Regions from separate parts of the Homo sapiens genome. Here region 1 is linked to region 2. The links are contacts of gene promoters, found by promoter capture Hi-C in human tissues and cell types (Jung and others, 2019). All regions are on one chromosome and are shown on one strand. The core of a region is centred on a gene start or on the middle of the fragment in contact, and the rest is flanking DNA. Distances in the headings are between cores, read along the strand shown. Region 1 overlaps SP110 (SP110 nuclear body protein). Region 2 holds the start of SP140L (SP140 nuclear body protein like).

Region 1 (4,835 bases), core at 2,336-4,835, 150 kb before region 2:
AAATGCATTTTATGCAAGAGAACCGTAAAATGTGACTTACATTAAATGGGATGCCCGTAAAAAAGGAGCTTTGTGGATGACAGTAGGCCTTCAAGAGGAGGAACTCACATTTCTGTAAAATGTGAAGAGGGCTTGAAAGTGAAATGCAGCTTAGAAACAGTGAAGCCAGGCGAGTGTCTAGACATGCACACGGATGGGGCAGCCAAGCCCAGTCAGCATTCCAGCCATGCTTCCCAAGGCGCACAGGGTGTGTGGGATTTTGTTTAGACTCTGAGTTTGGGCATTAAATCGTCATCCTTTAAAGGGAGACATTGAAGGCTCCCTTTGGTACATTGCCCTGACCCTGTGCCTGTTTGTGCTTCTCGTGTGAGAAGGGAAAAGTATAGGTTTGGGGTTTGCATCCAACTCACCAGCTGGTCCTGAGGCTGCATCTGCCTCTCCAGGGTCTTAGATACATGATGGCACTGTTGGCTTCCTGAAGACCTCTTCATCCTGCAGAAGGTGCAACTCCACAGCATCCTGAGAGGTTGGACACAAGGTGAGCAGAGGGCAAAGCCCCTGGAAATGGCCACCATTCCTGTGGCTGCCACTGTCTTCCCTCAGGAAGGATGGGCTCAGCCATGAGGGTGGGACACCTCCCAGAGTGTCCAAGATCCCCACATGGGGTCTCCAGCATTGGCCCTTCCCTCGCATCAGTGGTAGCGGCAGGCGGGCAGCCTGAGGAAGGTGGTGTCACTGTTAAGTGTGGGCTCTCTTTTCCCTGTCTGAGCTGCTGGGAGCACAAAGGAACCCTGCCTGCCAGGCTTGAGTGTCAGAATCTGGGCTTTCACCTGCAGGGACCTCAGGCCTCCATCAGCCAGGTGAGACTATGGTGAAATGTGTGACAAGCCGTGCTTCCTGTCTTTCCTCAACAGGCACAGAACATAAGCTGGCTTTTCCCGTCCCCTCCTCCTTTTGGACAGGAGTCCCTGCTGTCCAGGGAATAGCATACTAGGAAAGGGCACTTCCAGGGGCAGAAGCAGTGTGGGGCCAAGAGGCTCACTGGCAGTCTCAGAGACCCAGAGAGGCCCAGAGTCTCTGGCACCAGACTGCTCTGCGTCACACCCTCGTCCCCGACGCTCACAGGTCCTGCCCTTTCCATCTGGAGGTGAGTGCTGTGTGCCCGAGGCGGGGCTGCATCCCACTCACCTCTTGGCTTCCACAGGGGGGATGTGACAGTCCTCATGGAAGACTCGTGGACAAGTACCGCAGCAGAGAAGTTGTCCCCCTTGACAGCACACCTCGCATTCATCCGAGTTTTTCCGCTGCAAGGGCAGATAACGTGGGCACCGCTAGGACCATGGAGACCCACGAATGCTGACCCTGTGGGGTTCTAGAACACATCATTTTTGTGTGTGCCAGAGTGGATATCCAAACCCAATTTTTGATGGGGGGAGCTGATGCCACCTCCCTGGGGGAAATTGCAAGACAAATGGCACAACAAGCAGAGAGTCTGGGTGGTGACCGCCGCCACCAGGACTTTTCTTCTCTGGCTGTGGCTTGCCAACAGGTTCTGCTGCGTTTTGAGCTGTGCTGCTGCCTGCTGGCAAGCTTGTGCTTTGAGCTGGGCCACTCTGGGCGCATTTGCTGAGCCCACCAGGCCTCTATTAATAGATCTGACTGACCAAAGTAAGAAATGATGATAACTGGCATTTGGGTGCAGGAGTATGGGAACTGTTGTTCCTGGTGCCTTGCCTAACTGCCCCATGGTCGTAACATAACATGGCCCTAAAATGTTCCACAGTGGGCATGGATGCTATGACCCAGTAAATAACACATTAAAATAATTAAAATTAAGTTACCTTTGGCACTTACAATTGGCTTTACAAAATGGAACTCTATGGACCTTCTCTGTTAAAATATTTAATACTGATCAATATGAATTAAAACACGGCTTTCAAGGATTGAAACTCATTATGGAAGATCTATTTAGAGAAAGGGTGATTATCCCCACTGTTTCTCCATTTAACAGCCCAATTTGGTCTGTTCTTAGGCTTGGAAAGAATGAATGGTGCCTCTCGGTGAATTACTACAACCTGAATCCTGTGACCCCACCTGTGATGGCCCAATGTTATTGAAATTACTGACTCCATCCACTTAGCAAGTGGTAAATACTCTGCAGGCATAGATTTGACTAATGTGTTCTGTTCAGCGCCTATTTCAACAGATCTCAGCTGCAGGTTGCTTTCACCCCCGAAGGGACACAATAGACCGTTATCTGGCTACCACGGGGTACCTCGACAGTTCTGCCACCATACACAATCTTTGCAGGCAGGATTTGAACTGCATCTGACATTCTCTAGGAGTACAGGTGTAACATCACCCTGAAGACACCCTTCTTTCAGCAAATTCATTTGACACACTCAGGACATTACTCACAAAGAACTCATAGAAAAGGATGGGGTTTGTGTTTCCACATGGTGGGATTAAACTAAAACAAAAAAGTATGGGCCACTGCCCCAGGCATAGTACAGGGATCCACACCAATTTCTGGCCATTGTCTGGTCAGTTGAGGGATGCTCCATCCCTGACACTGTCAAAAAATAATTATTGACCCTCTGAGTACTCACAGTGTTCTAATAAACCTCCCAGCATCCTTCAGGCCTCTTGAGTTCAAGGAAACACATCCTTCATTTGTAGATTTTAGGTAAGCCCATTTACGCTGTTACTTGCAAAATAAGCCCACTTTGAATGGGGCCCCTTCTAACAAAAGGTTCTAGAATCTGTCAAATTGCAATACAGCAGACATTAGTGCCCTCCTGAGTCTCATTCACTGTGGAAGCTTTGGCAACCTCCTCTCATGCCTCCTGGCATCTCTGGACCACCCATGATGGCCATGGGCTTCTGATACAAAAAAAAACCAAAACCCCAAAAGCTGTTCTCCTCAGCCTCACACTATATGCTGATAGAGTGGCAACTGCTGGCTGCATCCAAGCCCTTCTGGAGACGGAGGCTCTCACAGGCCAAGTCTGTGGCTCTTTACACCAGCTGCCCATCATGTGTGGGTCATGGAGGCAGCACGCTGCAGGGCAACCACAAAACACATTTTGGGAGTACCAGCATCGGTCTCTTTGTTGTACACATACATAAGTGAGACTGCAGTGGAGACAGACGGACGTGCTGCCGAGCAGCAGTGACACTGGATGATGGGGCTGAGGGCAAGGCCCGCACTGGCTCATTCTCAGTCGGGTAAACCTTCATCTTATTCTCCCAACCTGGCCCTGGAAGGTGGGACTGAGAGGCTGGGTCAAGCATGCCCCTGGCTATTATGAGCTGACATGTGGCATTAGGAGAGTTAGAGGGTATTACCATGTTGGGGCTATTAATTAATGATCTGGATTTTAAAGATTTTTTTTTTTCTGGTTGCAAAAGTAACAAATGGTCATTATAGTAATTCCAATTGTACATAAAGGTATAATACAGAAGGCATATGTCCCTGTGATCTCATCTCAAAATAAGTGCAGTTGATTCTTTTGGCTATTTTTTCACTCATAGACCTACCTACACGTTCACATAAGCAACAATGGGTTCCTTCCCCACACGTCACAACTAGCATTAAGTGTCCTGAAGCTCTCCTGACCACAAAACCATTTGGTGGCTTTCCATTGATTGAAGGATAACTCCATACTTATGAATCCATGTATTTAAACAAATATCTATATCAAAGGTCTAATATTCTATAAGAAAAGTTTAAAAAAAAACCATTCTGTAGCTGTATCAGTTTATTCTGCAATACTGATAGAACTTGTGTTCGTCCCTAATTTTTTGCTATTATGATGTTACACTGAGCACCCCTGATTCTCAGGGTATTTCAGACCAGCATGGGAAAGATGATTTATATAATAGATGGCATTGGGAGACCAGTGCCTTAAACTTTGAATGAATCCAGCCTGGTCAGGCCAGCCTCCAGGGCAAGATGGGGGAGGCACCATTGTCTCTGCTGGAAGTTCACAACTAACGGGAAGCTCATGAGTGGAGCTGATGTGTCTGGAGAACACATCTAAGCAAGTAGAGGAGGTTGAGGAGGGGGAGTTAGTGCAGCCAATAGATGACTGCCATTTCCAGCTGTAGGGATGCCCTGTAGAGACAAAGCTCAGTTCAAAGGCGTCATTCCATCCTGGTGCTACCAATAAGAAGCATGGAGGATTCAGCAATACTCAGTATGCAATCATGGATGATCCTCTTGTCCTTTCATATACTGTTCCTGTCTATTTCAATGCCTTTTCTTTTGCTTTTCATGCTGCAGCATTCTTTTTTTTTTTTTTCTGAGACAGGGTCTTGCTCTGTTGCCCCAGCTGGAGTGCAGTGGCATGATCTCGCCTCACTGCAACCTCTGCCTCCAGAGCTCAAGTGATCCTCCCACCTCAGCCTCCTGAGTAGCTGGGACTACAGGTGCATGCCACCATGCCTGGCTAATTTTTGTATGTTTTGTAAAGAAGGGGTTTTGTCCTGTTGCCCAGGCTGGTCTCAAACTCCTGGGCTCAAGGGATCCACCCACCTTGGTCTCCCAAAGTGCTGGGATTACATCGCTCTGTATAGCAATACAGAGTCTCACTATATCACTCAGGCTGGTCTTGAACTCCTGGGCTCAAGCAATCCTCCTACCTCAGCCTTAGCTGGGACTACAGGTGCACACCACCATTCCTAGTTGATTAAAAAAAAATTTGTTAGAGATGGGGTCTTGCTATGTTGCCTAGGCTTAGAGCATTTTATTTCTGACACCTTTGGTTTATAGCCATCCAAATATCCAGATCTTTTTCTAAAACACATGGACATGATGAGCTTTTTCATTTAAT
Region 2 (4,943 bases), core at 1,621-4,120:
GAATGTGGCTTAGACATGTGGCAGTAAAGGGACCCCTAACACTAAACCCCAGAACTGGCTTATCCCCATGGCATCGAACCCTCCCTCATGCCATGCAGGCCCCTGTCCTTGTGCACTTGAGCTTGGAGGGGCCAACAGAGTCTTGGTCTCTGCAGGCAGGATGACTCCAGGGACACCCAGCAAGGAGCAGGCTCACTCCCACTCCTAGAGAAGAGTCCCCTAGAAGAGAAGAGTCCCCTAGAAGATGGGTGGGGACCAAGCCTTGATTGATTGATGTTCCACCTCCTAGAAGGAGACAGTTTGGCAGGACTGGCTGCTCCCACTAAAGATCCCAGGCGCCTACTCTTCACTCGTCACTTCTACGTCCCTTGGAGGCTGGCCAGGTTCTCTATTCTCATGCCCCAGTGGCACTGTTGCTGCAGCTGCCTCCTGCCCTGAAACTCTCTGGTCCATAACGCCAATGACCTCATCTCAGGGATAGACCTCTGGGTTCCCACATGGGGGTCCCAGGTTCAAGAATCACAGCCCCTCCCCACCCCTCGCCACTGAAGTCTGAACTGAAGCTGCTTTTGGTGAAGCTCACGAAGGCCCATCACCTGGATGGGTGCCCTGCCTGTGGTTCTTCCTCAATCACTGCCTCTCCTGCTTCTGAGTTTTCCAGGCTCCAGTAACTGGAACTACTTCTGTGACAGCAAAAACATTCCCTGTTGCCTGTACTCCTTGCAGCCATAGAAAATGCTCCAGGAGTTCCATTATTTCCTTCTAAACAATCCAGCAGGATTTTTAGAACTTCATACTACTTCTTAATTTGGTCCTGTCCCTTTCCCAACCCAGGTGTGTCTGATGTATTCCAGATCAAAGAAACTTTGCTTTTCCCACAGAAGCCTAGAGATTCTCCATTAACTGGCATTGCTTTTGCAGAGTGTGGTGTGTGCTCAGCTTTTTCCAACCCTGTCTGACAAGAACATCTCCTTCCCTGCTGTCAGGAGCTGCCCTAGCAAGGGCATGTCCACCTGTAAAGGTCAACACTTGCAGATTTCCAGCCAGCTCATTGGTCTGGAATTCCAGCCCCTAAGCACACCCAGAGAAAAGCTGGTACATATGTCAGTGCCACTCAGTGGCCTGGGCCTGCTTGCTGCCCAAGAGCAGTGAGAGGGGTGAGTGCAGACGCCAGAGCCGACTGGTGTGGTCCGCGCCAGGCCTTGTCAGTGCTGCTGTGCTCCATGGAGACTGGGATCAGAGGACAACTGTGCCCAACAGATGCTCAGCTTACCAGCCACTGTGCCTCCATAAAACTGGGGAGTCATGGGGGAGCGAGCAAGAGAAAGAGAGAGAGAGACCTACAGGTGTGCAGTACCTGATAGAAACAGTGACCTCGCCCACTGGAAAAGCTGTCCTCACCAGTGTCTTGGCACCTGCTTATTAACTCATTTTGGGGAAAGCAGGGCACCAGTAGAATCAGGGTAGAAACCCCCCACCCTCGTATTTTCAAATGTACCTGAACAAGCATTCACAGCTTCCAACTATTGTGCAATAAACAGCAAAAAAAAAAAAAGTCCTTGAACCAAAATTGTCCTTAGCTGCTCTGCCCTCTAAGATGGGGCATAGTTTACATGGGAGTTGGGGGAGGACTCCATGTTTGCCCCTTCCCCTTGCTGAGATGGCTGGGGGTGGGGGCTGGAAAAAGTTGGATTCAGCAGAATGTAATTTGGAAAACATGGCTCTGGAGCACCATCCCCTCTGGCCCCTGAATCCTCACCAGCTTCCACCCTCTGCTCACCTTGGGCCCTGGATTCCAGCGCCCCCAGGCTCCCAGCTGCCTCCCTGTCTCTGCCCCATGGTCCAGCCTGGAGTTCTGGTCCCTGGTTGTGTCCTGTGGCCCCATTCTCATGCGCCCTTTGCTTCTATTTCTTTACCTATGACTTTATACTGATGTAAAGCGAGTCTTCTCGGTCGCTTCTTGTTCTCTGAGGAATGTTGAATCAGAATCTAAATGGAAAATCTGGGAAGAGATAGAACCTCCCGCGGGAGCCACCCTGCCCTTCCATGTCTAGATCATCTGGGTTCCAACCTCCATCCTCCTCCAATGAGAAGCTTTTGTTCTCTCAAGATTCCAGTGACTTCTCCGAAGCTCTCTTCATCCCTGGCTGTTCCAAGGTGGCCCCATAGTCAAGATTCCTTAAACCCTTGCCCCTTAAAATGTTTGCCTTTCTTACCATGCTGGCTCCAGCCTCTGGTCCCAGGGGTGTGGAGAGTTCTCTCTTACTTCTGGCTGATTTCCAGGAAGGCTAAGAACACTCTCCCCAGGTTATAATGCTGAGCATTTTGGTTCTCTCCAGCCCTGGGTCCCCATGTCAGGACCTACCTTAGTCCAGTCCATGCTCTCCCATGGGCCTGAGAGAAGATTTGAAGTTTCTGGCTTTCCCTCCAACCCTCCAACTCTCACCCCCAGCCATTTCAGCAAGGGGAAGGGGCAAACATGGAGTTTTCCCCCCAACTCCCATGTAAACTATGCCCCCTCTTAAGAGGGCAGAGCAGCTAAGGACTATTTTGGTTCAAGGACATTTTTTTTTTTTTTGCTGTCCATTGCACAAGCAAGTGGACTCCCGGAAGCCAGCCCTGCTCGTCCTCTGGGCCCTCCTTTCCCTGGTCCTGCAGGTCTTGCTGCTTGTCAGGCCTCTCCTCCAACCGTCTGCCACATTTCAGAAAAGCTGAGAACCCCTTGGAGTGAAAAAGGAGGAGAAACACGGTGTCTGTATCCCAGCAGGAAGTTAAATAAATACTTTCACTTTTCTTTTCCCCATTTGGGCAGAAATCTGTGAGGGTGAGTCAGTCTGTCGGCCGACTTCCTGCTCCGGGTCAGGGCAGCCACACTGCACGCAGGCTGGGCCGACTGGGGAGCTCATAGGCCAGGCTCTGACACCCAGGCAGGGCCTAGGGTGGGACGATGGCAGGTGGGGGCAGCGACCTGAGCACCAGGTGAGTCTTTATCTCTCTTCCTTTCACCTTTATCTCTGGCAGTATTGGAGCTTTCATGCCTGTAGTTCAGTTTCTGTCTAAAGCTTCAGTTTAGTCCTGCTTTGCAAGAACATAGGTAGGTAGTGTAATATAATGGAATAAAAGAGAATGTAATAAGGAAATCAGATTTTTACAACTGCAGCAGGACAGCTGTTTGTGTGAGTCCAGCTTGCCATAACACAGATGACTTTTCTTGTTTTGAAACTACTGCTCAGCTGGCGGGGACACTCTGAACAGTCGTTTCAGTCATTTGTGACTGAGAGTTATTATTTCCTCATGAGAATGAGGAACACAAATTATATGTTTGTGTTTCAACAAACATTTCCTCATGATCTCCCAACCCTTTCACATCCCTCTGCCCTCTCTACCTTCACATATGTCATGTCAAAGAAGGTAGTTTGGAAATAGACACTCCAGGGTAAACAGCTGGCTTACTTTTAAACATTGGAAACTGTGGTTTCACCTGTCTTGGCAAGGGGCCTCAGTCAGCTTTGGGGCTATTTCCTTGACTGACTCAGGGTGTGAGTTCTGATACAATTGACCTTGATCCAAAGAAGGAAAAAGAAGAAAAAGGCCCAGGATGGCAGAAAGCTAAATATTTTTATTTTTACTTCAATTTCCTGTCCCAAGATGGGGGATGCCTCTGACCAGAAAAGAGATGGAAATCCTATCTTTTCTCTAGTAACGAGTTTATAAATAACATTACGTAATCTTTTTATTTTATTTCATTTTTTTGAGACAGGGTCTCACTCTGTCAACCAGGCTGGAGTGCAGTGGCACAATCCCGGCTCACTGCAACCTCTGTCTCCTGGGTTCAAGCGATTTTAATCTTTTAAATTTTTTAATACAAAAGAAATACATTACATTCTTACTCATAAAATTTCAAACAGTGGAGAAGTGTATAAACGAAAAAGTCTTCTTCACCACTCACTTCGCCTTGTAGCTTCCTTTCACAGTCTTGTGAAGAGTCTTCGGCATAACTTTTCTCATATTTTTCGATGCATTTACGTGTATGAAGTATGTTTTTGTAAACATATAATTTGTGTTCTCGTTTTGTAATAAATGGAATTACATTGTGCGTGCTATTCTGCATTTTGCATTTCTACTCATTTTAATGGTGGAAATCTTAGAGATCTTTTCACCTTAATGCATATAGATCTACCTCACTCTTTTTACATATACTATTCCATAGAATTTACATAGCATAATTTTTTAACCATTCTCCAATTGAAGGACATTTAGATTGTTTTAAATTGTTCACGTTTATCAATAAGCTATAATAATGATTATATATTTCTCTTTTTTTTGCACATATGCAAGTATTTCTCTTGTGCCTAAACCTTAAAAAGTGGAATTGTTGAAGCAAAGGGTGCTGTTATTTACTTGTTTATAGATCCTGCCAAATTGTCTTTTTAGGGGGCTGAACGGAGGTGTTTCACAAGTAGCAAATGAGATGAACCATCTTCCTGCACACAGCCAAAGTCTGCAAAGGTGATGAAGAATTACAATTTGTTTTAATTTGTATTTTCCTGATAATGTGGAAAGCTGAACAGCTTTTCATGTTTCTTGGCCACTGAAATTTCCTCTTCCATAATTTTTTTGTTTATTTTTTGCCAATGTGATTCAGTTGAGGTGTTTGTCTTTTTTTCATGATATGGGAGAGTTCACTAAATATTCTGCAAAGTATAAATATACTTTTCTTGTCCCTTACATTTGTATATGGTGACTTTTATCTTATTAACAGCTTAAAATTTCATGTATAAACATCTTACGACATAGATTTTATAAGACAGATGCACCCTCATTATAAATAGTGATGCAGAGAGTTGCTGAGGCACTCTGTGAGCACGGCCAGTTTTTAAAGTCGTTCTTCTGTTAAGGTGGCAGATTTGATTCTGCCTTTGTTCCAGGAAAAGTTCCTTCTC

The links. Contacts are between HindIII fragments. The study calls those that stand out against the background at their distance.
Region 1: a fragment that was not itself captured here is called in contact with the fragment with the promoter of SP140L in region 2 in 1 of the 25 tissues and cell types used here (mesenchymal stem cells).

The regions. Positions count from the first base shown.
Region 1 is chr2:230,171,656-230,176,490 of GRCh38, forward strand. SP110 (SP110 nuclear body protein) reads right to left here. Exons shown (of 19, transcript NM_080424.4): 15 at 1,189-1,304; 16 at 411-519; 17 at 41-112. Among named protein-coding and RNA genes, the nearest start is that of SP110, 46 kb to the right of the region's middle. The HindIII fragment of the contact is 8,617 bases long and covers 1-4,835 here.
Region 2 is chr2:230,324,323-230,329,265 of GRCh38, forward strand. SP140L (SP140 nuclear body protein like) reads left to right here and starts at 2,871. Exons shown (of 19, transcript NM_138402.6): 1 at 2,871-2,979; 2 at 4,435-4,509. The coding sequence starts at 2,948. RefSeq lists an enhancer at 2,545-3,014. The HindIII fragment of the contact is 8,396 bases long and covers 408-4,943 here.